2 separate regions of the Homo sapiens genome follow, and region 1 is linked to region 2. The links are contacts of gene promoters, found by promoter capture Hi-C in blood cells and fetal thymus (Javierre and others, 2016). All regions are on one chromosome and are shown on one strand. Each heading gives the region's core, a stretch centred on a gene start or on the middle of the fragment in contact. The rest is flanking DNA. Distances are from core to core; before and after follow the strand shown. Region 1 holds the start of TERT (telomerase reverse transcriptase). Region 2 holds the start of CLPTM1L (CLPTM1 like).

Evidence for each region. The method cuts DNA at HindIII sites, captures the fragments that hold promoters and counts their contacts. A CHiCAGO score of 5 or more calls a contact.
Region 1: the fragment with the promoter of TERT here is called in contact with the fragment with the promoter of CLPTM1L in region 2 in 2 of 17 cell types (naive CD4 T cells and erythroblasts); the score reaches 6.1 in naive CD4 T cells.

Annotation. Positions count from the first base shown.
Region 1 is chr5:1,293,818-1,296,683 of GRCh38, forward strand. It overlaps TERT (telomerase reverse transcriptase), which reads right to left and starts at 1,251. Exons shown (of 16, transcript NM_198253.3): 1 at 954-1,251; 2 at 1-849. The coding sequence starts at 1,172. RefSeq lists promoters at 811-2,866, 811-1,502, cis regulatory regions at 816-1,172, 1,175-1,207, 1,277-1,285, 1,297-1,305, enhancers at 1,199-1,241, 1,212-1,928 and silencers at 1,338-1,407, 1,508-1,597. The HindIII fragment of the contact is 13,041 bases long and covers 1-2,866 here.
Region 2 is chr5:1,343,832-1,346,531 of GRCh38, forward strand. CLPTM1L (CLPTM1 like) reads right to left here and starts at 1,268. Exons shown (of 17, transcript NM_030782.5): 1 at 849-1,268; 2 at 520-620. The coding sequence starts at 1,010. The HindIII fragment of the contact is 23,624 bases long and covers 1-2,700 here.

The sequences.
Region 1 (2,866 bases), core at 1-2,500, 50 kb before region 2:
GCCAGTCAGGCTGGGCCTCAGAGAGCTGAGTAGGAAGGAGGGCCGCAGCTGCTCCTTGTCGCCTGAGGAGTAGAGGAAGTGCTTGGTCTCGGCGTACACCGGGGGACAAGGCGTGTCCCAGGGACGTGGTGGCCGCGATGTGGATGGGGGGCCCGCGTGGTGCTGGCGGCCCACGGATGGGTGGGAGTGGCGCGTGCCAGAGAGCGCACCCTCCAAAGAGGTGGCTTCTTCGGCGGGTCTGGCAGGTGACACCACACAGAAACCACGGTCACTCGGTCCACGCGTCCTGCCCGGGTGGGCCCAGGACCCCTGCCCAACGGGCGTCCGCTCCGGCTCAGGGGCAGCGCCACGCCTGGGCCTCTTGGGCAACGGCAGACTTCGGCTGGCACTGCCCCCGCGCCTCCTCGCACCCGGGGCTGGCAGGCCCAGGGGGACCCCGGCCTCCCTGACGCTATGGTTCCAGGCCCGTTCGCATCCCAGACGCCTTCGGGGTCCACTAGCGTGTGGCGGGGGCCGGGCCTGAGTGGCAGCGCCGAGCTGGTACAGCGGCGGCCCGCACACCTGGTAGGCGCAGCTGGGAGCCACCAGCACAAAGAGCGCGCAGCGTGCCAGCAGGTGAACCAGCACGTCGTCGCCCACGCGGCGCAGCAGCAGCCCCCACGCCCCGCTCCCCCGCAGTGCGTCGGTCACCGTGTTGGGCAGGTAGCTGCGCACGCTGGTGGTGAAGGCCTCGGGGGGGCCCCCGCGGGCCCCGTCCAGCAGCGCGAAGCCGAAGGCCAGCACGTTCTTCGCGCCGCGCTCGCACAGCCTCTGCAGCACTCGGGCCACCAGCTCCTTCAGGCAGGACACCTGCGGGGGAAGCGCCCTGAGTCGCCTGCGCTGCTCTCCGCATGTCGCTGGTTCCCCCCGGCCGCCCTCAACCCCAGCCGGACGCCGACCCCGGGGAGGCCCACCTGGCGGAAGGAGGGGGCGGCGGGGGGCGGCCGTGCGTCCCAGGGCACGCACACCAGGCACTGGGCCACCAGCGCGCGGAAAGCCGCCGGGTCCCCGCGCTGCACCAGCCGCCAGCCCTGGGGCCCCAGGCGCCGCACGAACGTGGCCAGCGGCAGCACCTCGCGGTAGTGGCTGCGCAGCAGGGAGCGCACGGCTCGGCAGCGGGGAGCGCGCGGCATCGCGGGGGTGGCCGGGGCCAGGGCTTCCCACGTGCGCAGCAGGACGCAGCGCTGCCTGAAACTCGCGCCGCGAGGAGAGGGCGGGGCCGCGGAAAGGAAGGGGAGGGGCTGGGAGGGCCCGGAGGGGGCTGGGCCGGGGACCCGGGAGGGGTCGGGACGGGGCGGGGTCCGCGCGGAGGAGGCGGAGCTGGAAGGTGAAGGGGCAGGACGGGTGCCCGGGTCCCCAGTCCCTCCGCCACGTGGGAAGCGCGGTCCTGGGCGTCTGTGCCCGCGAATCCACTGGGAGCCCGGCCTGGCCCCGACAGCGCAGCTGCTCCGGGCGGACCCGGGGGTCTGGGCCGCGCTTCCCCGCCCGCGCGCCGCTCGCGCTCCCAGGGTGCAGGGACGCCAGCGAGGGCCCCAGCGGAGAGAGGTCGAATCGGCCTAGGCTGTGGGGTAACCCGAGGGAGGGGCCATGATGTGGAGGCCCTGGGAACAGGTGCGTGCGGCGACCCTTTGGCCGCTGGCCTGATCCGGAGACCCAGGGCTGCCTCCAGGTCCGGACGCGGGGCGTCGGGCTCCGGGCACCACGAATGCCGGACGTGAAGGGGAGGACGGAGGCGCGTAGACGCGGCTGGGGACGAACCCGAGGACGCATTGCTCCCTGGACGGGCACGCGGGACCTCCCGGAGTGCCTCCCTGCAACACTTCCCCGCGACTTGGGCTCCTTGACACAGGCCCGTCATTTCTCTTTGCAGGTTCTCAGGCGGCGAGGGGTCCCCACCATGAGCAAACCACCCCAAATCTGTTAATCACCCACCGGGGCGGTCCCGTCGAGAAAGGGTGGGAAATGGAGCCAGGCGCTCCTGCTGGCCGCGCACCGGGCGCCTCACACCAGCCACAACGGCCTTGACCCTGGGCCCCGGCACTCTGTCTGGCAGATGAGGCCAACATCTGGTCACATCCCGCCCGCACAGGGTGGAGGGCAACCTCGGGGTCCAGGCACCTGGCTCCAAGCCTCGGACTGCAGAGCTAGGAGGCCCGACTTCCAGCCCAGCAGTAGAAGCCACACGGCCACTGGTCCCCTCCAGACCTGGGGCCCCGGCACAACCGCAGGACAGCTGAGGACTTCCCAGGAATCCAGACTCCGGGTTGCTCAAGTTTGGATCTAAGGGGCGAGAAACTTCTGGGTCTCCCGAGGCCTTGCAGGGATGCTGTAGCTGAGGTCGGCAAACACTGAAATGCTAACAAACGCAACCTTAAATGTAACCTTTCCTACTTTCAGAAACTGCCGGAGGAAATTGCTTTATTTATGGAGCTAGCATTTGAACAGGCCTCGCACCCTCCCTGGGCTGTCACGCTCGCTGGAGGTTAGCCTCGTCTTGTAAATACTTAGGATTACAGGTCGCTCTTCTAGAAATCCCCTTAGTGATCCCTAAGCCTTTTTAAAGGGCTGTGTTTGTGAATTGTCTCTGCCACTAGGGCAAAGGGGCGGTTTGGAAAATTTGTTCCAACAAAAGTTAAGTTGTAGCTTACACTGGTTCTCTGCAGAGAAGCCAACATAGAAAACACAATTTTAAAAGAGGGAAGAGAAGAAATGGAAGCAGAAGATTATGCTGGAGTAATTAACACCATGTGCATGGCGAGGAAACGCCTCCCGGCATTCAATGAAGATCGCTGATACCCAGAAGACACCCCAGTATTATGGGTGCAGT
Region 2 (2,700 bases), core at 18-2,517:
TCAATTAAAAAAAATTAGGCCATGTCAGATGTAATTTTTAAGATACTCTACATATTTGGACATTGATCTATTCTAACGTCACATGTCACTTATTTATGATTTTCTACAAAATTGCTTCCTCTATCCTCATCTCTTTTCCCTCACAAGTAACTTAAGCGAACTACTTCCACCAGGAAAAGACAAGTTGGTCCCCGGTAGTGAAACTGCAGAGTTGTCTGCTCTCCACTGGTTCACCAAGCGTGGCCCCTGCTCCTTCGGAGCCTCCCCGTCCAGGACATCCCACTGCCATCACACTCTGCTGAGAACTACTTCTTAAACGACATTCATCACCTGTCACCTTCCAGGCTGAATGTTTACAGGCCACGCATAGGCCTCCAGTTAGGATATTCTACCACTTCAAGACATTCGGTAAGACTAGTTCTCTAAAATAAACATGTTATGTACAGAAAGCTAACTTTTAAACAATCTGAACATGAGTAATGTTTTCCCTTTCACTGGCATTTTGTCCTACGCCCATACCTTTCAAATTTGGACTCCACATCAAAGTCTTCCACATTCAAGACCAGGTCGATGTTGTTCTCAGCACCCAGGTGGGACCTCGTCGTGGTGTACACGCTCAGCTGGAAAGGAGGGGGCGTCGAGAGTCAGCTCGGCCAGGCCCTGGCAGGACGCACTCAAATCCCACGGCCAGCTGGAGGGCGGAAGACCTGGCCGCTGGGGAACCAGGAAAGGTTCCATCTCGACTCGCGCGGCCACAGCTCCGAACTGGGACGGGAAGGCGACGTCTGGGGCCTGGAGGAGAGGCCCCCACCCCAACCCGCCCGGCCCCCGGCCCCGCGGACGCTCACCTGCAGCTTGGGCCGCCGCGCCAGGTAGGGCTGGATGCAGTTGGCGTCGCCGGAGCACGGGCGGGTGTAGACGATGCCGTACATGACCCAGCAGGTGTGCACCACGTAGACCACGAACACGCCCACCACCAAGCTGGTGAAGGAGCTGCGGCCGCTCCACATGGCGGCCCCGCGCCCGGCGCCCCCGGCCCGCCCGCCTCTCAGCCGCGAGCCCCGCCCGCCCGGCGCCCAGCCCGCCGCTCCGGGCTCCGCCGCTCACTGGAGAGCCGCCGCGCGCCACCGCCACCGCCGCGGGGGAACGAATGCGCCGCGCGCCGCAGACCGCCGGCCGCCCCGCATGCTCCGGCCCCGCTCCCACCTGGCGCCGCGGGATTCGCCGGCCCCGCGCGCCGCTTCCGGGCCCCGCCGCCTGCCGGAAGTGGACGCGCCGCGCGGCTCCCTGGGAAACGGAGTCTCGGCCGCTGCCGCGCACGCGCATCCAGGATGCGGCGCGTGTGTGACGTTACCCGCCCGCGCCGCCCTCCTGGGGTGCCTCTCAGGGACCCAGGCGCTCAGCTGCTGGGGCCGCGGAGGGCGTTCGCGGGGCGCCGGGGAAGGCTAGGGCCGCGGGGTCCCCGGGGCGCCGTCCCCAACCGCCGACGCCTGCCAGACCACCAAGTGGGGGCCATGTCGACGTGTGAGGAGCCTGGTGGAAGGTGATACTGGAATTCCGGCACTGGGCCTGCAACCCTTTTAGTCCACAGTTGTCAGAATCTAAAGGGAAGAAAAACGAAGTGCTCAGAACCCTCACAGAAGCCGGGCACCTCATCCCGTGTGTGGGTTTTTTCCCCAGTACAAACCCATTGTGGGGACAGGCGCTTTTGAAGAAAAAATTCAGATTCCCGGGCTGAAGTGGCTCCTCACAGCCTTGAACCTGACCCCCAGCTTCCCGCTAAAGCCGAGCGTGCCCAGCACGGCGAGGTCAGCAGAGGCCCCTCGGAGGGCGGCCGGGGGAGGTCAGTGGGAGGCCCTCGGGCAGCCGGTGGATGGGCCGGCGACCTCCCCGACTCCATCAGAAGCGCTCAGTCTGTGCCCTTCAGTTACTGGAGCAGCTCCCGTCCTTTGGCCAGTTCTCTGGAAGGTCGTTTCCGTTTCTGTGTCTGCCACACGTGCAGCACAATCGAAAAACCTTGTTCGACATTTCTAGAAAGAGTAGATGCTACTGAAGACCCAATAGATTGCTGAGGGTTTTCAGAGCAGGGACAATTGCATCAGGGTGCTGGGCTCCGGGAAGAACTCAGAGGACTTGGCTGACGGGCGGATGGGACAGTGATTGGTGCCGAGAATGGGCCAGAGAAGCAGGTCTGCCTGGAGCAGGCACCCGAGGCCGCGTGCAGGGGCGGTCCTGGGCCACCAACCCCTGGAAGCTGGGCCAGGAGCTTCGGAGCCATCCGAGGCTTTTTTCGCTCCTCTCACTCTCATGCACCTAGTTACCCTCCCCACAGAGTCTTCTCACGGCGCGGTTTTCGGCTACCATTGCAGTGGTGTCTGACTACACCCAGTGCCTCTATCGTTCCCCCCTCAGTCTGTTCTCGCTTCTTGGCAAACCTGTCCTTGGAAAGCCCTCTGCTGACTCCTGTTACCCTGATCAAATGCATCCTCCTCAGGAGGCTCGTGAGCCCTTTGCAGGGTGGCCCAAGAGGCATCACGCCCTGCTCTCCAGCCACTCTTGGGGTCCCCTACAGGGCCAGGCGTCCCACACCAGCAGCGGGTGCTGGTCCTGCCACAGTCTGTGCGACACGTGAATGAAGGCTGTAGACCTGTGGTCTGCGGGAGGCAAATTCCAACTCCAGCTGTCAAACATAAGGGGACT